4 separate regions of the Homo sapiens genome follow, and regions 1, 3 and 4 are each linked to region 2. The links are contacts of gene promoters, found by promoter capture Hi-C in blood cells and fetal thymus (Javierre and others, 2016). All regions are on one chromosome and are shown on one strand. The core of a region is centred on a gene start or on the middle of the fragment in contact, and the rest is flanking DNA. Distances in the headings are between cores, read along the strand shown.

Region 1 (6,824 bases), core at 4,263-6,762, 910 kb before region 2:
GAGACCAGAGATTAAAAAATAAAAGATGAACAGGGCTTATCACTGCCCACAACAAACTCATGATCTAGGCAACACATTATTTTGTGTACTGGGGAAAGGATGGCTCCAAAGCCTGTTTTCTTTAACAGAAGAAAAGGACACAGTTGTCTCCAGACTGGTCCACATGTTTAACTTTCACATCGTTCCTGACTCAAGCAAGTTGACTAATTGCTTACACTATACATCCCAAAATTGAAAGTCTTTAAATTTGGAAGTGCATTATGCCTGCCTTTAGATGGACATGGCTTATGGATTCACTTATGTCATACAATTTTCTTGCAAACTACTATGCTGTTTCAGGCCGGTGAGGTGGCTCATGCCTGTAATCCCAACACTTTGGGAGGCCGAGGAGGGCAGACCACTTGAAGTCAGGAGTTCAAGACCAGCCTGGCCAACATGGTGAAACCCTGCTAATGAAAACACAAAAATTAGCTCTGCATGGTGGTGGGTGCCTGTAATCCCAGCTACTAGGGAGAATCGCTTGAACACGGAAGGCGGAGGTTGCACTGAGCCAAGATCACGCCACTGTACTCCAGCCTGGGTGACAGAGCAAGACCCTGTCTCAAAAAAATAAAAATAAATTAATATGCTGTTTCATAGGTTGAATCTGCTTGGACGCTGGTATGCAAACGGGAGGGGGCAAGGGGAGAGGAATAGGAGATGACATGGGAAGATGAGACTGGGAGACGGTAAAGTGTCCCCACTTCCTTAGGGTGAGCTCCACAACTGTCTAGCAATTCTCTAGCAATAAAATGGCTGTCCTAAGATTGATAAGCCTTTAGCGTGGCAGAGTGATGACTCTAGACTCTCGGATTTAAAGATCTCTTTACTTCACACAAGGTCTCTTTTTCTCCTCTCTTTCCTCTACATAAACTTTCTTCTCTGTCAGCATTACTGCTGCCTATTGCATCCAGTTTACTATAATGCATAATTACCATGCCATCATTGCTGCTGCAAATGCCTTTTTCTCTGTTCTTTCTGCACATCCTTTTCCATTTATCTTATATTTCCTGTTTTGGAAATGTAAGATACATCTATATACATCATGGTGCCTTTGTAATGTTAAATGTATTTTTTTCTAAAGAAGGTCCCCTAAATTGCAAAAGCTCAGGCTCCACAGAGACTTAGATCAGTCTCTCCCCATGGGTTTTAATATTCAAATCTTTGGCTCACCTTCCAGTTGCCTTGTTGTTTTTGTTGCTGCTGCTGCTTTTGTGTTATGATTCTGTAGGTAAATTGTTTGTAGGGCTTGTTCTTTTCTTAATGAATATTTTTAATATCTTTTTTTCTCCCAGGCAGTTTCTTAGTCCAGAGTTGTGCCAGAAGCCAAATTTTCTAATAGAGCTTAATGGATTCTTCGACAATTCTTGTAAAATATGGTATCTTAAACATCTATCACTAAAGTGGATATTACAGTACAGATATTGCAAAAATGTGTTTAACAGGGTACATAGAATTTCTGCCAAACCAAATGTTGATACACAGTATTAATAGGACTCACCCAGCAACTTATATTTCAGCCTTCACATTGACTTTGATACCAAATTCTTTTTGAAATCTATTGAGTACTCTCTCAATTTCACCCAACTTGGCCTCCCCTCCCCAAACACACATATTTGCTCCACCTAAGAGGCCTAAGTCTCTCAAAATTTTAGAAGGCAGTCAAACAAGATGCCCTTTTTCCAGGCAGTAATATCACAATAGAAAACATCTTCTGAATACTAAACCTCTGGCAGCAATAGAGTCTATTCATTTCGTTGCCAAAGGAAATGGTAACCCAGTAATTATCACTGGCCCTATTACTTCTTCTCATTAGCCCTTGTCTCACACAAAGCAGAAGTTCAAGTTCTTGGTTCAGACTTTGAGATTTCCAAAGAACTGGTTTGGCAAATGACTTTTATTTCTTGATCAACATTTTGTGTATCAGGCCCCTATTCAGGTTCTGCAACTAGAGAAGTGAACAGACAATATTTGTGCTAGCATGGCAATAAGTTTTGCTGAAGCAGGGCAATGAGGTGGGAAATATTAAGGGATGGAAGAAGACTGTTTAATTATCTAGAACACTTCCTTGAAATAGATTAACAAGCTTTCAATACCAAGCAGTTAGGGTAAGCCATTGCTCAAAGGGACTACTATGACAGTTTTTTGTATTACCAAATTTTATTAGATGTTAAGTCCATACAGAGGTTGAACTATATACAATGGCAGTAAACTGAATATGAAGTCATTAAAAATTAAGTTTCATGCTATTCTTTTGGGTGTCATGACAGTAGCAAAACTAGCGCATTCAGTTCCCAGAATCACAGCTTCATCATAAAGATGAGTCATGTTGAACTAAAGGGACTATATTTTAATGAGCCAATCTGGTTACTGTAGCTCATCTATGCTCAGCAGCAGACTGCCTGGGGAACAGGAGACAATCTATTTGTCAAATGAAGAATTAGTCCCTGATGCTATCCTTCGGCCTTGATCCCCCCCTCAACACTCTCCTCTCTGTTCCTTCTTGTATAAAGTCTTGCCTTGGGGGTTTCCCTTAACTACAAATAACGGTAGCATAAAACAATCTGCATTGTGCCTGCGATTCCCCATTTAGCATTTGTTGACAAATAAGAGTCATCAAATATTTATTATTTATCTACAATGCTTTTAGCACTGTGGGGTTACAAAATAATCTTTATAGAATAATCTCTTGGCCTTGAGGAGGAGTTTCTAGTCCTTTGAGAGAGTGAAAACCTCCATACATGGAACTTCAGATCAGAAGGTATGGTCTGTAGTCATTCAGAAAAAAATGATCGCTCGACCCTATGTTAGGTAGTCAATAGGGAGAACCTTAGAAAGGAGTTGGGACATGAGTTAAACATTAAAGAATAGTTTAGGTGTTGAATAATTTGGCATTTTTATCATTTTCCGATTTGCTCTCTTTTTAAATTCATGTACTAAAGATTTCCTATTGACAAGCATACGATGCACAATTATTTTTATTCCTGATTTCAGTGGATCATTCTGTGAGTTGCTGTGGTTGTTTTTCTAGCTTTAGGAGAGGATTAATACCTTGAATCCTTACTTGTAAGTCTCACCAGCACTAGAGGTTTTAAAGTGTGGAGTAATAACATCTAATGTAAGGGAACTAGAGTGGAGACAAAAACATAGGGGAAATGCTAATTTTCAGTAGTCAGTGTAACCATGGGTAATTTTTACATGGGTTTGTGATATTCTGATGTAAATGCTTTAAAGTAGATTTTGAATATATTATTTTCTACTGAATATCGCATAGTGTTATTTTAAAATTTATTAGGAAATACCAACTCTGTGCCAAGTAATGAACATTACTGATGGCTAAAATGCTTGGCTAGCATCAGATCTGTCTAGCTTTATTAAAAATAATAAATCTAGATTTACAAAGTTCTTGACACACAATATATCAGAGATATAATCTCAAAAATGTATATCCAAATAAGTTCTGTCCTTTAAATTTGGTCCTCTATGAAATGATAATCATATCTGAACAGTAATACCATCATTCCATAGATTTTTTAAGTCTGTGTTTCAGTCTTTCTTAAAGTGCCAGTAGACGGCTGTACAGATAAATTTCTTACATTATTGTGAAATTCACATTTTTATGAAGATGGTATTGCCCCTGCTTGATCATCTGCTTCATAAATTCACATAACAAACATTTTGCATGGTACTCATACTGTGCCAGGGAGGCAAAAATAAATTTGGCGTGGATCCTGCCTCTAAGGATTGTACCACTGGTAGACTAAAACAGGTAAGAACTTGGCAAACGAACAAGGAAAAGGCCATTTGAGATAAAGGAAACGCACATGAAGACATGGAAGTGCGGAACAGCATGGCATTTTCAGGGAACAACAGATGGTTTGGCATGACTAGAATATGAAATGCAAGGAGAGAAAGGGTGCAGGTGATGCTTTAAAAAGTCATTTTAAGCTAGACAATGAAGATTTTTTAACACTTAAAATAATTTCCTATTATCAAAGATTTTATCTTTTTTACCATAGCCTGGAATAAAGTTATAGTGGGCTTTTCAGGTATACTTTTATTAAAATTTGAGGGAATAGGGACGGTAGAAACAAATAAATAAGCTTAGAAGTGCCATACGTGGTGTCAAAGTGATGTCTTGCTTTCACATTAAAAATAAATATATATTTACAAACTTCTTGACATATGATATATTGGAGACATCATTTCAGAAACGTATATCCAAATAAGTGTTACACTTCTTGTGAGCTATTTTGTTTTTTAGTCACAATAATTAAGAAAACCACAGAGTACAGAAACTAACTTTTATGTGTTTTTATTAAGCTTTAATACTTATATACATTAACTTATTTAAGATATATATAACAATCTAAGTAATACGCATTTCTCTTCCTATTTTACAGATGAGAAAACTAAGATTCAGAGTAAAAAAAGTGGCCTAAGATGTCCAGGTTACTAAGAGACAAAATCAATATTCAAACAGATATGTTTGGCAACAAAGTTAATAGTTTATACTGTGTTGCCACTTTACCTCAGTCAGACTTTATCTATACCATATTTGGGTTTGAACACCTTCTGTTCTAAAGAAATTTTAAAGTTTTCGTTAAACTGTCCCAAATGTCAGGTAGGAAAAGTTGACACTGATTTCCCTAAATCACAATATTCATATTAAATATTCTGGAGGTTGCCAGGGAAGAATTTCATAGCTATCTTATCTACACCATCCTATACAAACTGCATCTTGGTCCATTAATCCTCAAATTATGTTAAAGAAAAATTGGGACTATTATACAATCTCTAAGTGATAGTAGGCTCTCAAATGTGACTTTAAGAACATATGTTAACCTCTCTCGACCTTAATTCTTCATCTCTAAAAGGAACAGTTTAGACTAATAATCCCAGTGATCCTTCTGCGTGGTCTCAGGATTCTGTGCTCACTGCAAAATAAATAGCATTTCAGTCTGTAGATACGGTATATGCTGGCTTACAGGTGAGAGAGACACTTTAAGTGTGATTATTTTATAACCGCCAAATTCGGAATCGGATTTGAGAGCTGGGATTTTTGTGTTTATTTTTAAGAACTCTCATGGCCTACATATTTCTGGCATATGTAAAATTTGTTACTGGTGATATACCCTGTTTATAAACAGAAACTTGTTCTTTAAAGACAAGGTACCAATGTGCTTAATTTTTAAATCAATAGAAATAAACTAATCAAGAATACCCATCAACTGCATTGTGGAGTGGTTGTTGTATGAGGAGGCAGTAGGGTATAAGGATTAAGGACCCAGACTCTGGGTTTGAATACTGGAAATGCCACTTCTTCCTAACTGTGGAACTTTAGGCACATTAATGCTGTTCTCTGTGGCTTAGTTTTCTCATCTGTAAAAACAATTTCTGCCTCATAGAGTTGTTTTGAGGATTAAATGTATTCATGTATGTGTAGTACCTAGAACAGTATCCGGTACATATAAACATTCATGAAATGTTACCTGTTGTTAGCATTATGGATAAGAGATCACTTATTTGAATTAAAGAAGCTACAGAATTAATGGATAAAATAAAAATATTGAAGGTAAGCTGCAAGAGGGCAGAGGTTTTTGTCTGTTTTCCATATCTGTTTCCTGGGCACCAGCCTAAGTATCTGGCTTAGATTAAGTGCCCAACATATATTTGTTGAGTGAATAGTTCAAGATTCAATGACGTTGAAACCTCTATTATCTTGTTTTTTTTTTTCAAATGTTCCTCTGTATTTTAATGTTTCTTGTATTCAAGAGCATTAAGCCATATGCTATAAATTCTATAACATAATGAGTAGTAAGTAACAGCTTTGGTCTCTAGATTCCTGTTTCAGTTCCTCTGTGCTATTTTAAGCAGAAATACCATAAAATCTTAGATAATTTCTTATAAAAACAAGTGTTAGGCCTCATCTTTTTTCTTCTTTTTTTGACAAGTAAATAAAACCAGGCCTCTGCTTATTTAGACATTTCATGGGTCTTGGCAGTTCTCTTTGTTGTAGCAGTAGCTGTATTGATCCAGCTGTTGCAGTTGCTACTTGGGCAGCTGCTGGGCAGCATTGCCAACTGCCTCAGATGGTTTTTAAACTGATTTTAGAGAGAAAAACAATCCAGGAATTCCAGAAATACAGCTAAGCCTCCCCTCTCTCTTGTCCAATTAGCAGCTATGGCTTAGAACCATGGATTCCAAATACAGCAATCCTACTCTTTTGGATACAAACTAATGCCTATCTTGAAGAGTCTAAGTTGGATAAAAATCTCACCCTCAGTCTCAGTTTTAGTAATAATACTTTAGAATTACAGTTACTGTAAGCCAAGTGTTTATAAGGATTTTCATAATCTGTATCTTATTTTACTTAAAAACCCACGCTTTCTTCTCTTTACTCTTTCCCAGATAGACATAGTTCCTGAGTCACTGTTGATTAGCCAAAGTGACAAGGATAGCCACTTTAGTTAATGAAACTAAATTATTTCTCCCAAAACTAAATTATTTCTCCCAATAGGCTCTCGGTCAAAATCATGCTGATATATAAGGTGCTTTCCAGCTTTGTACTATCTTAAATATTTTATTGTTGTCTAAATGATTTTGTTCCAACCATAAGCTTGGAAAACAAGAAAATTGTATAGTACAACACCAAAACCTAATAATTGTCACCACAGGGTGCATTGGCCAATGGGAGGAAACTTTGCCTTTTTTATTTTTTTTAACAGAAAGAAATATCGATATCCAACTTAAAGTTCCCAGGAAGGGTATGAAAATTTCGCATA
Region 2 (7,266 bases), core at 3,657-6,156:
GATTGGAGGAAATAAAACCTAAGTCAGAGAAGCTGGCACCTGTGTTCAGTTTTCTTCCACTCTCTTGCTTCTGTTTGTTCTCAGCTTTTGTCTCAAAAGCAAGTGTTCCCCTGGTCTTGGTCACTACAGCTGTCATAGCCATTTTCTTCATTTCACCAACATCCACTCTTGGGATGCATCCACCTGCCCTGCTACAACGACCCTGAAAGCACAATGGATTTCCTTTCTTCCTTTTAAAATGGGTCTAATGCATTGTCTTGCATGACCTGTGTGCTTAATAAAATATGAACTGATGAGGAAGAGGCTGACAACTGCAAAGACCTACCAAAGGCTGTAAGAGTGTAATGCTGGGAAGCATCCTTTTTCCTCCTCTATGCTGCTTATGGTAAGTTGGAAGGTGCTCACCTGTTAGAGTTTAGCAAACCATGTGTCTGCCTCTCCTCCAGAGGCAAAAGTCTAAAATAGCCAGTGGAGGAGAATTTCATAGCCTGAGGAGACTAAAGTTACTCTCACCTATACCACAGAACTTGAAGACCCCAAATGGTGTCCTAGCTTGAAATAAATAAACAAGGCAGAACTTCCAGTCTTCAAATTCTTATCTTAGAAACAACAACAACAACAAAAACCTAATATTGACTTTTCCATTTGCCCAGGAGCATTCTGAGGAATCCACAAACAATCCATGATGCCAAGTGTTAAACTCCAGTCTGCTCCTGTACTTGGTGTCAAAGTCTGGTACCTCTTGCCCAGTGCCACTCTCAGTGCCACCCTAAGGACAGATACCACTGCTATTCCCTTTTCATGCAGATGCCTAAACTAGTTCACTTCCCCTGTGGGGAAGGGATGAGCACAAAAATCATGTGGAATGAGTGTTCCCACAGAGCTCAGAAATTTGATGATCTCAGAGGATACTGTAAAGAAAGACCCTTGACACTTCCCTAAGGAAGAATGCCTTCTGTAAAAGGCTACTGCCAGGACAAAAAGCATGTGCTGGGAAAAATCTATGGCCTGCTGCTGCGAGTGTTTCCAATTCTGATGTCCCACTTCCTCTTTATAAGCACATTCCTTCCCTCCTTATTTCTCTTCTTAAAAAGACACTCTGGCATCGGGTCTCAGTTAAGAAGCAAAGTGCAATGTTCTATTAAAGGCTGTAAGATAAAAAGGGCTTAAAATGGATTTCAATAAACATAAAAGCCTTGAGTGCAATATAAGATCTACTCTGTTCTACCACTTTTAAATGTTTCGAAAAAAGAACTTATTTTTAAATGTTGGCAACCTAACTTTTTAAAAGTAAAGTTTCATTCACTTACAGCTTATTCATACAGGCCATAACATACAGCTCTTTAGCAATACAGTTCTAAGAGTTGTAATGTCCTAACCTGGGCTTCCAAACCTATCTCACAGTGGTTTTTGGAAGAATCAACTACAATAATAGACGTGAAAGTAATTTGACATCTGCCAGGGGCTAACCAACTAGATAATCAAACTGTTGTTATTATTAAAATACATCATACCATACAGTATATACCTAAAGAGTATGGACTTTGGGATCCCCAATCGCACTTCCACCACTTAGTAGTTAGCTACACAAGCACAGAGGGTCCTCAATTTACAATGGTTCAACTTAGGATTTTTTTACTCTATAATGGTGCAAAAATGATAGGCATTCAGTGGAAATCATACTTAGAATTTTGAATTGTGATGTTTTCTGGGGCTAGCCACATGTAGTACGATACCCCATCACAATGCTGGGCAGTGGCAGCGAGCCGCAGCTCCCAGTCAGCTACACCATCACAAGGATGAACAACCAATACTCTACAGTGGACTGTGTTACCAGACGATTTTGCCCAACTGTAGGCTAATGTGACTGTTCTGGACACATTTAAGGTTCGGTAGATTAAGTGTATTAAATGCATTTTCAACTTACAATATTTTCAACTTATGATGGGTTTATCAGGACATAACCCCATTGTAAATCTAGGAGCATCTGTACGGTGTAAGGGGCAAGTTACTTAACTCCTCCAGGCCTCAGTTTCCACTGGAAAATGAAGATAACACCCACTTTATCAAGTTGTTGTGATGATGAATATAGTAATGTATGTAAAATTCTTGGCATGTAATGAACACATACTAAATGATAGCTATAATTATTGTTAGGCTATTTAATTAAAATCCAAATGTTCAGCTATTGAAAACAGTAGAAGGGAGGTAGAAGACAATCTTACCCAAAGGAGGACAAATGCTAAAAACATGGATGCTACATGCTGAAGATCCCTTCTTAGCCAAACACCACCCACTCACCTCACTCCCTCTTCTTCCCCATGATGTCAGACGTTCCTCCTTGCTTTGCATAACTGTGCAGCAATCAGGGTAAGTTAGTCTTTAACTCCAGGCTTGACAAAGTGATGATTCATCCTGGGAAGGGGATACAGCCTGTTGCCAGCCTTATCACACAATCAGGCATCCACCAGAACGGCCAGAGGCCAGAGACCAGAGACCAGCCACTTAGGATTCTGCTATCTGTCCACATCTCCAGTAGCAGCAATGTTCAGATGCTTTACATTTTGTTAATGTATAGAACAATGAGTACTTGAGAGGAATTCAATCGTGTTGTATTTTATAAAACAATTCACAGCATAAGTGAAAAGTCCAAAATGGTAAGACAACAACAACAAAAAGTCTCCCTCTGTTAGCTGCCCTAGCACAACGTTTTGCCAGGCAGTGTGTTAGTTCTAATGACAAACAGCTTGACAGTTGGACACCATCCCATTTCAACTTCACATCATAATGGCTCCTGAGGACAACTCCCAGTGCTTTTCAGCCTGGCCTGAAAATTTGACCACATCCCCCACGAAAAAGACAAACCCTCAGCAGTAGCTTATACAGCTCTTTTCCATTACCACTTAGTGGGCAGGAGATATTTTTTTCCCCCACAGCAAGCTCCTAATTAGCCTTCTAAGGTTAAGAGGCTTTCAAACTTGGTTCATCTCAAAATAAATGGCCAAAGGGGTGGTTTAATGGCGGACCCTCAGCTTGTCAAAGAGGCAGCTCTGGGCCACTTCCCAGCCCTGTCTGCAGCCAGACTACTACAACAGAATGTCTCCTAAATTATCACCACAGTAATGCTAACCTTCAGTCCGACTTTGGGAATCCTCCCACCAGTGTCCCACAGGCACAAACCATGAATGCCTGGAAATGTCAGCCTCCTCCCAAAACAGTTTTGCTTGGAATACCCCATTCAAAAAACACACATCATTCAATCCCCCATAGCTCCCTCCCTAGGTCAGCCAATCCTTTGGCGAGTCTCGATTCCAATCTAGGAAAGGTCACTTAACAAATGTCTGACACATTACATTTAATTCTACCACCTCTAAACGATCCTCACACAGAGAGTGAAAGCACAGAACACTTCAATGCCAGGGCTCCTCAGTTCAAACCCCAAACGCTGGTGTGTGTGGTGTGTTTCCTGGGACAGACTGTAAAAGGGTTTTTCAATTGTGTTACATAGTCTGATTCATTTATTTATAGCAATGTCTAATTTTCTGGTGGTTTCTGCCCTCAAACAGTCCTGGAAAACTGTTGTACTATATTATACTATAAAACAATTTTACGTCAAAATTGATTCTATAAAATTTGTCTCCTACCCATTCCAGCCAATATCCACTAGCTACACACACAGACCCAGAGGCACACACATACACACCAATACCATAGTTCATAGCAAAATTTTTTCAAATCTCAAAAAAAAAGGGGGGGGGGCTTCTTTCACTGTAACTAAGAAGATTTGCTTTGAGCAATCTAACATTGGGAACGCCTAGAAACTCAAGAAGCACACAACTTGTTGCAGCAATAAACGCTGGGCCGAAGCCTGAACAAAGCACTACAAATAAGCTCTAGAAACTCACATGGCCCTTGAACAAAATGTTGTGTGTTTGTAGTTACCTCTCCAGCGCGCTCTCATCACCCTCTCCCAACCCTCTCCCCAACTCTCTTCCCGGCCCCACCACCCTTCGTAGCTCCCGTCTCTAATCTGGTTTCCATTCCAGCCCCGCCCCCTTCCCCTTCCCTCTCTGGGACCGTGAATCAATCCCATCCCGGGCAGGAAACGAGACCCAGGGCAACCCCCTCCGCTGCGGCGGAACAAAGGAGGCGAGCGCAGCTGCACGCGCAGGGAGGCCCACAGCGTCCCGGGCCCCTCCTCCCCCGCCGCCGCCGGGGCACACCGCACCTGAACCCCACTCCCCAGGACGCCCCATTGTTCTCCCTCCGCTTTCCTGCCCGGAGGAAGCCACACCGTGTCTTTCCAGGGGGCCAGGAAACAGCTGTGGGCCAGAGGAATGGAGGGGCTGTGGGTGAACACGAGGACAGCCGAGATTCGACTCTGCCCACAGGTACGAGAGGCATGGGGCAAAGTAAGAGCAACTTAGTTTACAAGCCCTTCTTCCCTCCCGCCACCCCCGAAGCCACTGCGGAGTCACGACCACCCTCCGCAACCTACAGCGTGCGCCGTTCCCGCCGCAGCGCCGCGTCTCCCAAGAGAGCGGCAGAGCCCGCTGACCCCCGCCCGCAGGGTGCGACGGGGCCAGGGACCGCGGGCACAAAGGCGCGGAGCAGGCGCCTCGGGGGCCGACGACGGACGCAGAGGGAAGGGCAGGGGAGAGAGAGAGAAAGCGCTCGCGCTACCTCGCCTGGCGCTACCTCGCCGGGCGCCACTCCGCCTCCACGTCGTCCTCGCTCTCCGGTGGCGCTCCGGGACGCGGGCCCAGCCCGGGGCTGCGGGGCTCCCGCCGCGGCTGTTCTGCCAAGGCTGTCCCGCGGCTGCCGGCCGACTGCGCGCCGCGCGCTCTGGTACTGCCTCCACGCGCCGCGGTTGAGGCTCCCGTGCGCACCCAGCTGCGGAGTGCTCAGCGGCGGCGGGAGGAGCCCGGCCACTCCCCTCTCGCCCGCTGGCGGAGGGGCCGGCCGAGGGGCGGGGGCGGCGACCTCGCTGCCTGGGATTCGCCCCTCGGCGCGCGGGCAGGAACGGGAGCCACCGCCTCCGAGCCGACTCACCTCTGTCCGCCCGGTGCCGGCTTCACAGCGCCCCCCGGTGAGCGTCGCGGCGGCCTCCGCGCCTTGCGGGTTTGCGGCCCGACCCTCCGCACCCGGGGCGAGCCTGGATGGGACGAGGCTTGAGGGAAGGAGGGGCGATCGTCGCGGCCCCCACGGAAGGCAGTCTTTCTACCTTTTTTGCTTCCAGACTCACTGACATAAAATGAGAAATACAACATTTGACAACTCGAAGCCAGCCTGGGGTCACATTCCGGCAAACAGTGGGAGTAAGTCTCAATTTTTCCTCCTCCCCAAGATGAAAATTTTTGGATGCCGAGAATATCAGAAAATATTAGTTTCACAGAAAAAGAAAAAAATTATACTGAGTGGTGTGGTGTGTCTTCATTTACAAGACTTTTAGTATCTTTTAAATTACTTAATCTCACATTGTGGGAAATAGACACTGGCCAATTCTTTGTGTTATAAATACATGAGAGGTAGTTTAAAAGAAATTTCAAATACCCATACGTATTTGAATAGAGTGTATTAACAGGTCCTGAGTAATGATCAGTGATGGGGTATATTATACAGGCATGTAGGGGCCAGAGAATCAGGACACCCCCCCTACACACACACACACACCTTCTCACTCAAGCCCTATTGCCTCATTGGAGAATTTAGAACAATCCTCTTGACCCAGGTCCTGGTTTCTTCATCCTCGCACAGGGAAGGGTGCGCATTCAAACTTACTCACTGGGTGAGATGAGGATTACTTGGCTGAGGTGTTAAAAGCACTGTAGACACAGTAATTATTACTCATGGTTCTAACTACTTTATCCTATAATGAAATAAATTGCCATAAATGGGCCAGGTTTAAATGGACTGACCTGTATCTGGAAACTGTCACTAAAGTGAGGTGAACCAAAGAATTCAGACCATATATAGTAACTGTTCCCACTGGCATAAGAACCACAGGCGCTGGGATTTGTTAAATGCCACTAGTAGAGTTTGGAAAGGTGGGACCTTCACAGACTATATCTGCTGGGAACTGTCTCATCATTGATGTCACCATCAGCATCACTTCAGATGTACAAGTGGTGTGATAATGGGCGAAACTAACACATACTGGGTACCAGGGACTGTTCTTTGTTTAATCCTCACAAAAAGCTCTGAGGTAAGTTTCTCTCATTATCCTTGTTTTACAGACCAGCAAAGCCAAGGACAGAGAGGTCTTCAGGGAATACATGGCTATGGTGGTTTGAAGACTCCCATTAGAGAGTGGATATTAATTGCCCTCCTTTTGAATATGGTCTGGACTTAGTGATTTGATTGTAACAAATAGAATACAGCAGATGTGATGCTATGTGACTTCCAAACCTAGGTCATAAAAGGAGATGAAGTTTTCACCTGGCTCTCCCTTGGGACACTCACCCTTGGAACCCAGCTGCCATATTGTGAGGAAGCTCAAGCCACAGGGAAGGCCATGTGTAGGTGTTTGGGCTGATGGTGCCAGCTGAGGACCTGGTCTACTGCCAGTACAACTTATATCAAGCATGTGAGTTGGCGAGCTTTTGAAAGAACTCCAGCCACAGTCACTGACCACGCTGCCTGAGAGACCTAGAGAGAAAACCTAGCTGAGCCAAATCAGGCCCCGGAAACGTAAGTGATAATAATAAAAGATTGTCATCTGGGTGGTTGTTACATAGCAATAGACACCTAGAACAGTGACAGAGCTGGAATTTGAACCCAGATAGTCTGACTCTATAGTCTTCACTATCAAGCACACTACCTCAGACCTTGATAACCTAGCATAATGAAAACCCTGGAGATCCCAGCCTTCACAATAGGCAACATATGAACCTGCTACCTGGTGACGTGTGTTAGACTCACTTCTCCATTTTGCTTGTCTGAGTTTAGGTTCCCAAGTGACTGCTTATAGCAGTTTGGCAGTTCATGGAACTTCTGACCTCTACTGTCCAGTTCAGCTTTTCAAAAATAGCAGAAATGCAGATGGCAGGTTCATGAATATAAGATGTATACAAATTGAAGAGTGGGGGAATTCTATAAACTTTTGATCTTGGAAGGTGGCCAGATTTTAGAAAAAGTAGGTTTGAGACAACTATGTGCTGAGTAGGTCTATCAAAATAGCTAGCTACTAGAAGTAAAGTTTTGAAACTCCTGACTCAAGAAAGGGATAGGACACAGTTATGTCAGAACAGTTCGGCCTCTAGAAGG
Region 3 (6,897 bases), core at 216-2,715, 930 kb before region 2:
GTACATTTTAATTATTATGTTCCTGACAGTGCTTAAGCATTTAATATATGCTACTGTGCAGTAAGCCTCAAAATAGCCCAATCGGTTAGATATTACTGTACCCATTGAATAGAGGAGGAATATGCTTAGCAAGGTTGAATAACATTTCTCTGTCATGCAATGAGTAAGGTTTGGAGTTTGTAACTCCTAAGCCTTTATGCATTTCCCATTATGTTCATATAAGTGTAGAGTGATGAACAACACATTTTCCTTGACTTAAAGAAGTTTATAGGGGAAAATTTAAAAGAAACTATATACATTTAACTAAAATATATTTAGAATGTGTTATCACTGTAATACCACAGTCTGTTATTTAGCCCTGAATGAGTATAAGTAATACTGAATTAAACTTTCAAATTAATGCAAATACAATCAATTAAAATTTTTGTCTGTGAAAGTATACAAAAAGCACCCAAGCACTGTTCTGTCCAAAAGAGATGGTGTTGTGACTTATGACAGTCAGTTTAGTTGGTAGGAATATTCTAATATCAACATGAATTCATCAGTCTTTCTTGGTCTATTATCATTAAACAGTCAATTCTTATGATTAAAATCCTTGTTTGATTCTACATTTACTAAGAATAATTTTTATCATAAATTATTTTACCAATTAACTTGCCTTTAAGGAAAAGATATGCTGATCCAAAGACATATGTCCTGTCACATTAATAGTTAATTGATTACTTGACATTCTAATATAATAGTATTAGACCCTATAAATTTAGTTAATGTGGGCCTCCAACAAGACTGACAGTTCAAACTACTGCTCCTTCATGGTACTGCTAATGCCAATACATGACAAACAGGAGGGCTGCTGGGAAGGCCTTCCTTCTTCCATATTTGTCAGCCTTCTGTGGATTTTCAAACACCATGCCTCTTTCTATGTGGTGTTTCTCAATAAAGTATCATGGAAGCAAACAAGTAAAAGTCATGTTTTATTTTAATTGGACCGTAAATTCTTAAGAGTGGCATTTGGTATAAGTCTTGAACCCTGGGTGAGATTTCACTGTGGAATAAGGGCACATCAGGCAGAGAATATCAATATTAATCTTATTTCCCTGTATTAACATTAAAATACATAACCAAATGTATTGTGAACAAACAAAAATGGAAAGTCAGAAGGAAGATGATGTCTACACTTAAGAAGCAGAAGCAGATGGAATCGTAATGGTTTTGATTTCAACTTGAAATTTTGTGTGTTTCTGGGAACTACCTTCCCAGAAATAGACAACTTTGACCAATTGTAATTAAAGGAAGGAAGGGGAGAGAAGAAGTGGTGAAAGAAAAATCCAGAAGAGGAAGTATGATTTTTTCTGCAAGAATCATTTAGTGAATATCTGACTTTAAGCACAAAGGCAAAAATTAAGCTGTCTTCTACTGACTTCAAAAACAAAGGATGATTTGACACAGATGGAATCATCCACAATTGTGGTATTCGTAAAACATATCAACACCCATATAAAATATATTTCTTTTTAAACTGCTTTTCTCTTTGTTCATATGCAATTTGCAAGAATACAAGCCTTAATTATGGGTTTATTTGCCACACGCATTAGACTATTTAATTTCTGAAACTTACTGATTGTTACAAGCATCTCATTTTTAATACTTTATTTTGCTAATGGCACCAAATCCAGCCTGTCAAGATTAGGAATTTTTCATAGCCGAGATTAGGAAATTTTCCAAACGGGGCAATAATGTTTTCGTAAAGCTCTGGAATAAAAATGATGGATAATTTATTATAGAAGTTACATTAATAGATATTAAATTAAATTGATGTGAATGTACGTTTTTGGATTAAATATTAGTATTTTTCTCAAACAATATTATTGCAGTATTAAACTAAGAAAATAAACTTGAGCTTAAAAAGTCATAAATATTTTTGAATATGTTTTACTAGCAAATATAACTTTTCCCCCCACAGATGCAGGATCAGGATCTGGAGATGGAGGTAGGAGTTGCCTTTTTACATATTTGAAGATTTACTGGTGGATATTATTATGTATATTTACTTATGTATGTTCCATTTCAGATATTTAAGACAAATTTCATATTTTGCATTTTAGGAAAGGTGAAACCATAAAAAATTGTCACCATATTAAGTACATGTATATACCGTGCAAATTATTTGGCATACTTATGAATCATACTCTATCTCCAGTTAACCTTCCTTGTTCATTTGTTTGTTTGTTTGTTTGTAAGTTATCTTTGATATGGATAGGCATAATGTAAAAACTTCTGAAGAGAAGCATGTAAGCATATTTGGCAGGGAAGAAAGAATTCATGAGGAAATCATTTAAATATTGGATTTTTAAATATATGACACTGCTCTCAATTACTAGGTGCTAATAAGACATACATAACCTACCATATAGCCAAGGTTTTAATTATCAGATTTATAATTTGAAACTGAAGGAACTTTAGTTCATAAAAGTGAAAAAGATAAAATGAAGTCCAATGAAAGTAAAATATTATCTTTGCTTCCTTGATTAAATCTATAGTTATTTTTACTAAAGTATGATATATGTTCCCATTATTTAGTTTTGTTTAGGGAAGTATATAAGATGAGAGAGAGAGAGAGAGAAACTTTAAAAGTTTGATCTAATGTACTTACTACCAAATAAAGATTTTACCTATAGATTGAAACTAAATTGTAAATGTCCCAAATACTTTTCCCGATGAAATTCAAACAAAATTAGACTTTTATACACACAAAGCAAAACAAAACACAACCTATATATAATTTCAAGATTAAGAAAAACAAAACAAATAAAAGCATTCTCTCAAGACCTTGCTTCAGTTGTGTAAAATAATTAAATGTGCTATTCCAAGTTGATTTTAGTTTTTAAATACAGAATTTGATAAAAGATAAGTAAAAGAAGGCCTTGGGTTCAGGGTGGCAGATATTTAGTGCACCCTTTATCTAGTTCAGGAAACACTTGAAAGATTTATCAAGTTTCCTTATGTAATGAAAGACTTAACTAGTTCAAATAAGCAATACCCACAGAACATAATTAGAGCAGCATATTGGAGCACAATTTTTTTTTCATAAAGACTAAAACTGAACAGCAGCAGATTGAAACACAATTTTTTTCCTAAAGACTAAAACTGAACAGCAGTCAAGACTCAAGCATAGAATATGTTTCAATGTCCCATGATGTTGGACAGTCCTTTGATGTCTGGACAGTCTTTCTCTACTTCTAATAAAAGTTTTCCTAGCTGATTAATATAGTATTCCCAAGAAAGCGTCCCTAGAGGTTTTGAAAATAAGACCTTAGAATAGCATATTAAATCTTAAAGAAAAAAAAAAGACAGGAAAAAAGGCAGTTCCTTTAGTAGATGTTTTACCATGGGAATATTATTAATAAGAAATCAATTAATTTTTTAAAATGTTGCTTTTGTAAGGAAACAGTTTCTATGCAAAATTCTGTATATTTTCTAGCTGTTTAGTTTTATATGTAGACTACCTAATTTTGCAAATATTGTGCTGAGACTGAACTGTTCCACTGTTTACCCACCAGTCTTGTTAATTTTCTAGCATCTTTAAAGACAAAATAAAACATACCAAGAATGTCTTCATTTCTCTTTCTGTTAAAGCATCATCATTTACTTTTTTCTGCTTGACTATCCTACCATACTGTACTTCATATCTTTATTTTTCTAACAATAAGATGTGAACTTTGTTTCACATACTAGTTTCTAGTTTTCATTCATTGTTATTAGCACATGCAAATGGAAATGAAGTCAAACTCACTCTTCCCTGTTGCGTTTTATATTAAAATCTTTGGTTCATTATGTTGTCTTGTGATCTGAATAAGACATTTTTTCAGGAAATAATTTTAATCTCATGAATATGACATGTATAACTTATACCATATAAGTGAAACATCACTTGGAAAACACTTTATTTTCTTTCTCTTTTTCTGTTTTTTAATCACTCTTCCTTTCAGTTAGAGGTGCTTCATAGTAACTTGGAGAAAACAAAAACAACTTCCGATGTTTGCTTTAGAAAAAAAAAGCATATAACACATTTAATTCTGAGCTTATTCTTTTAAATAACTGCAGTTCTGAAAATTGTGGTGATGAGTATTTGCTCCTAATTGCATACAATTTTTAAAATTAGAGACTGATCAGGTTTTTCTCAACAGAACTGCTTGTTTTTCTAGTCTACATGTTACTTTGGTCTGTAAGACTATTAGTTTTAATTTTCTTTAAATTCTTTATTGAGGGATGCCAAAAATGCTTAGTAACTAAAACCTAAAAACCTAGTTTAGAATAACTTGCACAAATTCAGTTCACATATCCATTGGGTTGTAATCGTAAGATATATTTGACTTGCTATCTCTCTTATACAGATGATAGACTTTCCTCTGTATTTTTGTAGAATTCGTATTACCAAGGTTTTGAGAGGGCAGAATCAGCTTCCTTCATTTTTGAATAAAGCAAAAGTGATTGAATAACTTGTGATTGTTTGGCTAATCCAACAATTGTAACTAGTGATTGTTCTAACTAATCTCTATATAACATATTCTCAGTAATGTGTATTTAATTAATAATTGGGTTTACTTGGCAAGCACTTTGGATGGTTAATAGTTATTTTCTAATTTCTTATTTTAACAAAAGTTAATATAATTCCAAAATGGAGTACACTGAACAAAAGAGTGAAGGGAACAAATTTACTTGTAAAACATTTATCATGTGTGACTATCATAAATGATATCATTAAACTTACAAATCTAAAATCATGTAAAAATATATCAAATATTACTTTTTAAAAATTTTCCTATATTTTAGCGTGAATGAATATTACATTAGTAATGAAAATTAGACCTGATTATTCTAAAAATAATTTAAGCTTAACCCATTTGCACAAGGGTATGTCTGTCATTTACTGCATTTGAGAGAACATTTTTACTGCAATATAAAAGGGACATAAAGGTTTTATAAAATTTATTTTAACTTGTTATTGTACATTTTATAGGGAGTTCTAAAATCTTCAACCATTGACCTATTTATTCAGCTGAAACAATTCAAACAGTTAACTGTATTGAGATAAAACACATTTACTGTGCTTCCAACATGACCCACAAAGATGCATTCTCTCCTAAAGGAAATTTGTAGAGTAATAAGATACAAATACTTCATACAAATCTTAATGTTTGGCTGTCGCATTTCGCTGACTGTATCCTCTTCTTTTAGTGTTTAAGAAAACTCATTAATACAAAAGATAATTTTGTATTATTAGTTTTGAACATAGGACCCGCCATTTATGGAACTCTGTTTTCGAACAAAAACGTTTGTTTTGAAAGGCATCTACATCAAATAAACTTGTTGGATAGATTCACACCTGACAAAAAAAAATTCAAGATAAACTACAACTGTGAATTGTGCTATAGGGAGGTAATATGTGGTCCAAATTCCAAAGAATTTGAGAAAGTGATAGAAAGAAAACGATTGGTGTTTCAGGTACTTATATATGGAAGTTTAATGTTGTAAATAAGAAAACGGGTGTGTGTAGGAGGGATAATAACCTCTTATCCACCCACAGACTTCCTTAAGCAACAAATACTGCAGGAAGAAAAAGTATTAAAGGTGCCTCCTCTCAAAATTCAGAGGTGTGTGGGTGGTTAAAGAATAATTTTTAACCCCTGCTTTTCTCTATAAGTCTTTCAGTCATATTATAAAGACAATGCTATGAATATCTCCATTACTGTTTTTTTTAAATATTTATGTATTGCTTAGATCTTTGTTAGATTCTGAAAAATAAATAAGTCTGGTGAAATTAAAACCATATTTTAACTATCAAAATAATTATAAATGTATTATCCTGCTGTACATGAGCAGAATCCACAGTTAAATTTTAATATCATCTTATGGGAAGTTGTATGATAATGTTTATAGAAATAAAATGTATCTAAGATACACAGCATAGATACAATAAGTATATTTTTATTTCATGAGATAAAAGGAAGCACGGAACTTACTTATACAATTTATATATTTATATACAATTTTAAGATAATTCTTTAATAGGTTATTGTTGGATATGTAGAAGTCAAATTAAATTTATGTTTATTTGTATAAAAAAGCCTTATTTTTATGTGAATTATCCAGATAATTGTTGTTATGATAAATTTGGTGTAGAAAATCAGTTGACATATGGTTTTTATTTAATGAAAAAATTCCAGTACAAATTATTTTCATATAACATTACCAAAGATGTCCATAATTAAGACATTTGCTTCATATACATATTGGATAGAACAAGAAAGGTTTACATGGCAACACATTGTAGATCTTGGGCTGCTATTTCTGATTATGTGAACTGCTAAAAACTGGCAAAAATATTTTAAGCACTTTGAAACATGGAGATAATTTTAAAAAAATCCTTGTCTTTCTAATGTGGATTTTATAATATTTAGTAATTTGGTTGACTTGAAGGAAGGTAGTACTATAACCTAGGTATTTTTGCAAGATTTCTGGGGCTGTAAAGATGAATATGACACAGTTCTTTACACTCATGGAGATTACATGTAAATTCTCTTCTGAGCACACAATGGAAAAAATTATGATTCTAATTATGAAAAGAAAATTATTCCTCTGAAGAAATAAAATGTTAAATATACTGTAAATAACAAGGAATTGAATATTTATTCCATAAAATATGCTTGTAAAAGGCTAAGTAATTTTCCCTTCCATGTTGCTGTACTAATTCCCTCTCCAACCAGCATACCTTTTCCACTTCTCCACTATCATGGTCAAAGTCTGGCAAACACAACATACCTCATCATGGTTGTATGTTTTGTTCCCCCCACCAAGCGCTTGGGCTCACATTACAGCCAAAGTCTGACAGGTGTC
Region 4 (6,610 bases), core at 2,649-5,148, 950 kb before region 2:
ATTAGATAGATACATACATAGATATAGATAGATATAGATAGATAGATAGATTAGATAGATAGATAGATAGATAGATAGAAGATAGATAGATGATAGATAGATAGATTAGATAGAGTCTATACATGTGTTTCTGTGTATGTCAGGTCCCCAAATATCACCTGCTGCCTACCTTCCTTTCTCTTTCCTTTCCTTTCATTTGAAAACCTCAAATTTTGCATCAAGAGAATTTTCATTTATTTGTTTTATGGTCTGATGAATTGGGTAGTGGATTTCCTGACATGAAGCCATGGGAATACATAGATAGCAAAAATCTAAAAGCATAATAACACCCCCAAAACACAAATAACATACTCTCATAGTGAGGCAATAAAACCAATGACCACCCCTTAGGGAACACATAAGCAGAAGATGTGAACAGTTAAAACTCACTATCCCTTGCTTAGGCAACCTCTGATGTGCTCTGATCTTCACATTCTCAGTGCTGGACTTTGACTCTAAAATAGGTCTTGCCCATAAAAGACAGGGTAAAAGAACTTCCGGGTTATTCAAAGGGGATTTCACTACCATCCCTGGTAACAGTGTAAATAGATGCATTCTTGCCAAAGTGTGTCGATTAATACACTTAGTTTTAACATTTCAATTTAATTTACCACCATTTGTTGCACGCCAACTATGTATATGTCAATTTGCTACATCTTGCTGTATATACATATATGAAGAATGATGTACCTGAGCAAAAATTAAAGATCTTTACAATTCAACATTATTTGACTCTTACATTCAAAAGCAAATCTAGTTGGGCACTGTGGCTCATGACGGTAATCCCAATACTTTGGGAAGTTGCAGAAGGAGGACTGCTTGAGGTCAGGAGTTTGAGACCAGCCTGGGCAACATAGTGAGACCCAATTTCTACAAAATATTTAAAAATTAGCTGGGCATGGTGGGGCCCAGGAGTTTGAGATTGCAGTAAGCTATGATAGTGCCACTGCATTTCAGCCTGGAAAACAGCAAGCCTCAGGCCCTGTCTCAAAAAAAAAAAAAAAAAAAAAAGAAAATCTTACATATGAAAGTCAGAGAATTTACATAATTATTAATAAACTAGTTCTATAGTTCATTAAAAAGCTCACTCGCTATACAGATGTCTCCCATTTTTAGGTGTACTAAATGTAAAGTATATAATTTTACAATAATACATATATAATATATAATAGACATCTATTATAGATAAATGCAATCTATAAACACTTATATCCAAGATGGGGATGGTAGGATCACAGTGAATACTGGTCCATGCAGACAAAGAAGGATGTAAATAGCTAAAGTAAAAAATAGAGACAATGCTGCCCCAGAAAGATTAAAAGTGTGCTTTAACTCTTGATGATTTCCTATTTGTATATTTCAGTCCTTCCCATAATCTATGTCCTTACTCCACTAGAGTTCCACAACATATTCTTCCTCTTTTTACACCAGGGTTTCTTTGTTACCTCAGTATTAAAATGAACTCTGGCCAAGACAATATATAGAGGCTCAGAGAAACTAAGTAACTTATATCCATCTTGAATATAAGTGTTTATAGATTGGCTTTATCTACAATAGATGTTTATTATATATTATATAGTATTATTGTAAAATTATATATTTTACATTTAGTACATCTAAAAATGGGAGATATCTGTATAGCGAGTGAGCTTTTTAATGCTTATAAATGTCAAGGCAAAGACTGCAACTCAAATAGTCAACAGCTGCCTAGCTCCTGTCATGTGATCTTGCCATGTCATTATATTGGAAGCTCTAATAATAATCAGCAAGTGGCTAAATGTCCAGATTTATACTGTAAAGAAATAAGTATAGACATGTAAATAAGTCAATTAAATTCTCTTTTAAATCTTTTGAATTTTCTATTTAAACACTTTTAACATGTTCAACAACATAAGACTCAGTTTTTTGGAAAGTAGTGTTATCAGACACAATCTGTATCTGATTCTGTGTTACAATCACTGCTAAGGAAATGACAGTATCCAGTTTAGAATTTATGTAAGGTAAAATAAAGGAAGGAAGATTTTTAAAGGCGGTAATGTGGTGGAGTACAGGAAAGGCTAACATTTTAATCATTTTCCGAAAATGCTTATGATGTCAGAATACATTACATCAGAAGATACAATTGTGGAACATTTACACTACTAATGTAAAGACCTGATTGTGAGCTGACTTCATTGGTGAAAAGACAAGTCAAAGGGAATGACCAGCCCTGGCACCTAAAAATGGCAACACAACTTTTCAAAAGGCTCATTCATTCCTTAAACTATTGCTACTAATGGAGTAATATATGGAAATCCATTGCCATAGTTTATTGTAGTGGTTTCTTGCTAAAAGGGATTCATGATCAAATAATGTTAGAAAATCTGAGGTCAATAAAGTTAAACCGGTGTTTAGTTTTGCTTGATGTGTTTTGGCTTGATTTCACTGCAGGGCTCCTCAGAGCCTTTAATGTGTAAATGCACACTGTGAAGCTTCAAGTGAGCGATGTTTATATTAAGTTTTCCTAAATATTGTATGAAAGAAGTTCCTCCCCTCCATTTTTCTATTTTTTCTTTATTTATTTTTTTAGAAGAACGACAAGTGGGTAGAAGAGCAGCAGCAAAGCGGCTGGGAACATTAGTGCTCCGGGGGTCTGTTCTACCACTAACAAGTAACTTGGAGAAAAAAAAAATCAATGTCACAGATAATAAAGGGAGAAATGATTGGGGCTTATGGTATGAAATAAATGAGTAAAATGCTCAGAATATGCAATACTGGATGGTGTTAATAATACAAATTGGAAAGAACTACCTTTACTAAGTCTTTTTCTAATTTCCCCCAATAGAAGCCATGAGTAGCCAAAGAGAGACATGAAAGGTAGTTTCATTCCAAGCTGATTCTAGTTCCTGTTTCTGACTCCAGAGAATAAATTTCAAAATGAGTTTGAAATAAAGCATTAGGCTAAGCCCTAAGAAGGCTATGATTAAATTAATAGCAATGGAAACCTACTTGAATTTATAAATAAAAAGACACCAGATTGTATAGAGATGACTACTGCTTATTAAATCTAGCTCTCTTCCAATAACAGTTCTTCCTTTTTTTTTTTTTAACTACTGGCAAGCTAGTGGCAAACATTAACTAGTTCATATTGCTTTGGCTAGATGTTTTAATAGTCTTTGGTGAGATATGTGTTTTACAAGTTTTAATGGAGAAAAATGTAAGTATTTTACCTCCTGAAACTTGGCTATTTGAGTAATGAGAAAATAGTCACTTTCCCCAGGACAGTGGTTCTCAATCATGGCTATGTGTTTCTCCAGGAAAACTTTAAAAATATATATATACCAATGCTTCTGTGTCACTTCTAGGGATTCCAAGTCTTTGAATACGAACTCTGCATCAGTATTCTTTAATTATCCAGGTGATTGTGATGTGAAATCATGACTGAGCCCCACTGCTCTAAGATGAAATAAACTTTCCTCAGCACTGAAATCACAAACTTAAACTACCAAAATTAATTAAGGGCATGGGAATCAATAAGGCATAGGGAAGCTTTTACATTATAAAATTATTTCTTTAAATCACAGCTCATTGTTTATATGTTATTTGCCATTGTAGAAAAGGGTGAAAAAATAGCAAATTTAATTACTCTCAGTTTGAAAAATTATCCAGAAATGAAGATGACGACTCTGAAACATTGTCAATATCATTTGACCTATAAATAATGTTCTAATACATTTACTACACACTGATAGATACTTTTTCATATGAATATTATACATTAAAACTAAGGCAATAATGATTTAGAACATTCTATCTATATCTATGTATCTTAAGTAGGCTAGAAATTAAGATATGAGTTATTAAGTATGAGATGTTAAGGTGTGGGGTTAGAAATTATACTGTACTTCATTATCAATAATCAACATATACTTCAATATCACATACATTTAACTTTAATTTGTACATCTTTAACTATTTTTAATTATGTGTATAAATATAAGTACACACATCTTTATGTATTTATTTATTCATACCTCCATTCACTTATTTATATAGGGGATCCCCCCAAATCCACTACCATTAAACCATACATTTTTATTTTAATCTTTAGAACAAGCCCAGGAGGCAGGTATTGTTATTACTCACATTTTACAAATGAGGAAATTGTCTACAGTCACAAAGTTACTGTGTCAGACATATTAGAAGCTTAATACATATTTGGTGAACATATGCATAAAAACAGAGAGACAGACATGTACAACAGCTCATCTTTACACTGAGTAAAAGCTTTTAACCTGTCTCAGAAACCTCTCTGTGAAAACTGAGCAAAAATCGAGGTATCCTTTCATTTGTCATATAGGTATAGGTGGTACCTTACTTCTCCAACAAGGATGAATATTGAAATGTGGATCCCAAGGCCCAACTCCAGATTTTCTGAATCCCTGATAGTGGGACTTGGAATTTGTCTATTGTTTCAAAGTTTCTCAAGGAATTCATATGATCAACCAGGTTCAGAAATCACTGGATCTTATTGCCGAAGTTTGAGAATTAAAGTTTGGGCCTTACTGCGGCTCCACAGAAAGGGCAAATGAAGTATCATGGACAGAACTGATACGTTCCCAGTTAGTTTCCCCTCTCAGAAGCTAACAGGCAGCAATACAGCAGAAATTAGTGACTTATGTCTTGTGCTCTGAAGTCAGGCAGAATTTCACAGAGTCCCAGCAGTGTCACTGACGAGATTTGTTTCTTGGGGCAAGTTGCCTGATGCTTTCAAAGCCATATTCCTTTTATATAAAATGAGATAATATTCTTTGTCTCATAGGGGTGTTTTAAAGATTAAATAAAAATAACATGTTCTATCCTACATGGCACAATGCCTGACACCTAAGAAGCAAAGGATACATCTTACCTTTATTGAAGCAATCAGAAAGTATGAAATCATGAAGGAGATAAGAGTTCTGATTGGCAGTGTATCTTATTTTCCCAGGTTCATTTATTTATCTTAAACTATTCTTGTTGGAGAATAACTCCCAAGCCCCCTACTTAAGCTGTGAGTAATCTCACACTTTATAATGATGTTCTTTCCATGAGAAAAAAAAATGTTCTTAAGTTTTCTGGAGAAAATATATCTGCACTATTTCTACTGAAAAATCTAACAACTGGACTCTGCTCCTCTGCATCAATTCTAGAGTGTATATGCCACAAATAAAGTGTTCTAGCTCAAGAAGATTGAAAGTAAATATGGTATAGTATTTTAAAATAAGAATTTTGCAAATACATGGTATGATTGTGTCATATTACTAGCAATCATATGATACGCAATGCAAAGTACAGTTCATAGACTTAAATTTAATTCTAATAAGTAAACTGATTTTGCCTTGCTGGGGAAAAGTTAAAGCACTAATCCAATTGCTAATGCAGTCTTGTCTACTTCTTTGGTACCTAGTGACAAGTCTAAATAATGTATATATTTTTATTTACATATTCAGTAATACAATTCTCTGCTCAATGAGTGATGTTCTTCTGCCACTTGGTGGTGCTTGCCAGTTTCAGAATTTGTTTCTTGGTGGCACTATAACACTAAGTACAGAGTAAGTGCAACAAAATTGCAGCATTCCCATTGAAAAGGCTTTGCTTCAAACTGTTTAATAATTTAAAGGACCTCTGTGGAAGCAACCGCATTTGTTAACCAGTTACAACCAGTAATTAACTCCTTTGGAGTTTTAACTTACTTTTGGCAAAACGTCTTAGGAAGAGCATATATTATTAGAAAGTATGCCAAAAATTTACTTAGCAGAAAATTCAAAAACAGTTTTCCTCTGCTAAGAGGTTCTCTAAAATTCTACTTACATAGCCAAACTCTGAAATCCTAGCAGGTCCTGTTTCATTATCATAATTACTGCATAAACACTTTTAAGGACTTTGCCTTTAGTTTCAAGCATGACTTATTTTCATAAGCCTGATTAGTTACCACACCAGCCTTGCTATGGAAAATGACATGTTCTCATTCTCTGCTGTAGAGTTGTTAAATCTTGATCTATATTTATGTTGCCTTCTCTGCTGAAAGCCTGTAGCGAAAGAAATTTCTAATTCCTTGTTTTGCAATATTAGTTGGCAGCTCTATCTAATGGGTATTCTGTTTCCTTAAAGAATTTAGCTGCTCTGTCTAGAAGCCGATTTTCTGATGCCTCCAACGTCTGGTCTAATTGATCTGTTTTAATGGAGTCTTCGTCGGTGAGGAGCGAGATGCCACCGACTAGAATGCTGGGATCTGCTGCTTAATTGCCAGGAGTGAGAGACACTGAGATTCAGAAATCTTTGGAGGTGGGAGGGGAGAGGGACAGTCTCGGACGGAGGCGGAGATGTAAGATAAAGGGATGGATTTCACACAGGAAAAAAAAAAAGATTTCGTTGAGGCACTGAGGTGCTGCACGATCACATCTCTCAAAGGAGAAGTTAAAAAGCAAGGAAGTGGGAGGAGGTTGGAGGTTAAAGTACTTAAAAGGATTACTCGGGTACAATTTGTTTTTCTGCTGGTGTCTGCAAAGGATAGATAGTCCCGTTTTCAAAGTATATGAATGCCTCTTTTAAG

What was found. Contacts are between HindIII fragments. The CHiCAGO score rates a contact against its expected background, and 5 or more counts as called.
Region 1: a fragment that was not itself captured here is called in contact with the fragment with the promoter of MYO1B in region 2 in 1 of 17 cell types (total CD4 T cells); the score reaches 6.0 in total CD4 T cells.
Region 3: a fragment that was not itself captured here is called in contact with the fragment with the promoter of MYO1B in region 2 in 1 of 17 cell types (monocytes); the score reaches 7.1 in monocytes.
Region 4: a fragment that was not itself captured here is called in contact with the fragment with the promoter of MYO1B in region 2 in 1 of 17 cell types (monocytes); the score reaches 5.5 in monocytes.

Annotation. Positions count from the first base shown.
Region 1 is chr2:192,154,966-192,161,789 of GRCh38, reverse strand. All of the region lies in intron 4 of TMEFF2 (transmembrane protein with EGF like and two follistatin like domains 2), which reads left to right. Among named protein-coding and RNA genes, the nearest start is that of TMEFF2, 37 kb to the left of the region's middle. The HindIII fragment of the contact is 2,296 bases long and covers 4,365-6,660 here.
Region 2 is chr2:191,243,044-191,250,309 of GRCh38, reverse strand. MYO1B (myosin IB) reads right to left here and starts at 4,906. Exons shown (of 31, transcript NM_001130158.3): 1 at 4,684-4,906. MYO1B-AS1 (MYO1B antisense RNA 1) reads left to right here and starts at 4,135. Exons shown (of 4, transcript NR_186085.1): 1 at 4,135-4,391; 2 at 6,237-6,690. RefSeq lists enhancers at 2,102-2,895, 4,398-5,020 and a silencer at 4,596-4,985. The HindIII fragment of the contact is 11,846 bases long and covers 1-7,266 here.
Region 3 is chr2:192,174,761-192,181,657 of GRCh38, reverse strand. It overlaps TMEFF2 (transmembrane protein with EGF like and two follistatin like domains 2), which reads left to right. Exons shown (of 10, transcript NM_016192.4): 4 at 1,964-1,990. Among named protein-coding and RNA genes, the nearest start is that of TMEFF2, 17 kb to the left of the region's middle. The HindIII fragment of the contact is 6,862 bases long and covers 1-4,896 here.
Region 4 is chr2:192,196,497-192,203,106 of GRCh38, reverse strand. No RefSeq gene overlaps it. Among named protein-coding and RNA genes, the nearest start is that of TMEFF2, 4.9 kb to the right of the region's middle. The HindIII fragment of the contact is 657 bases long and covers 3,570-4,226 here.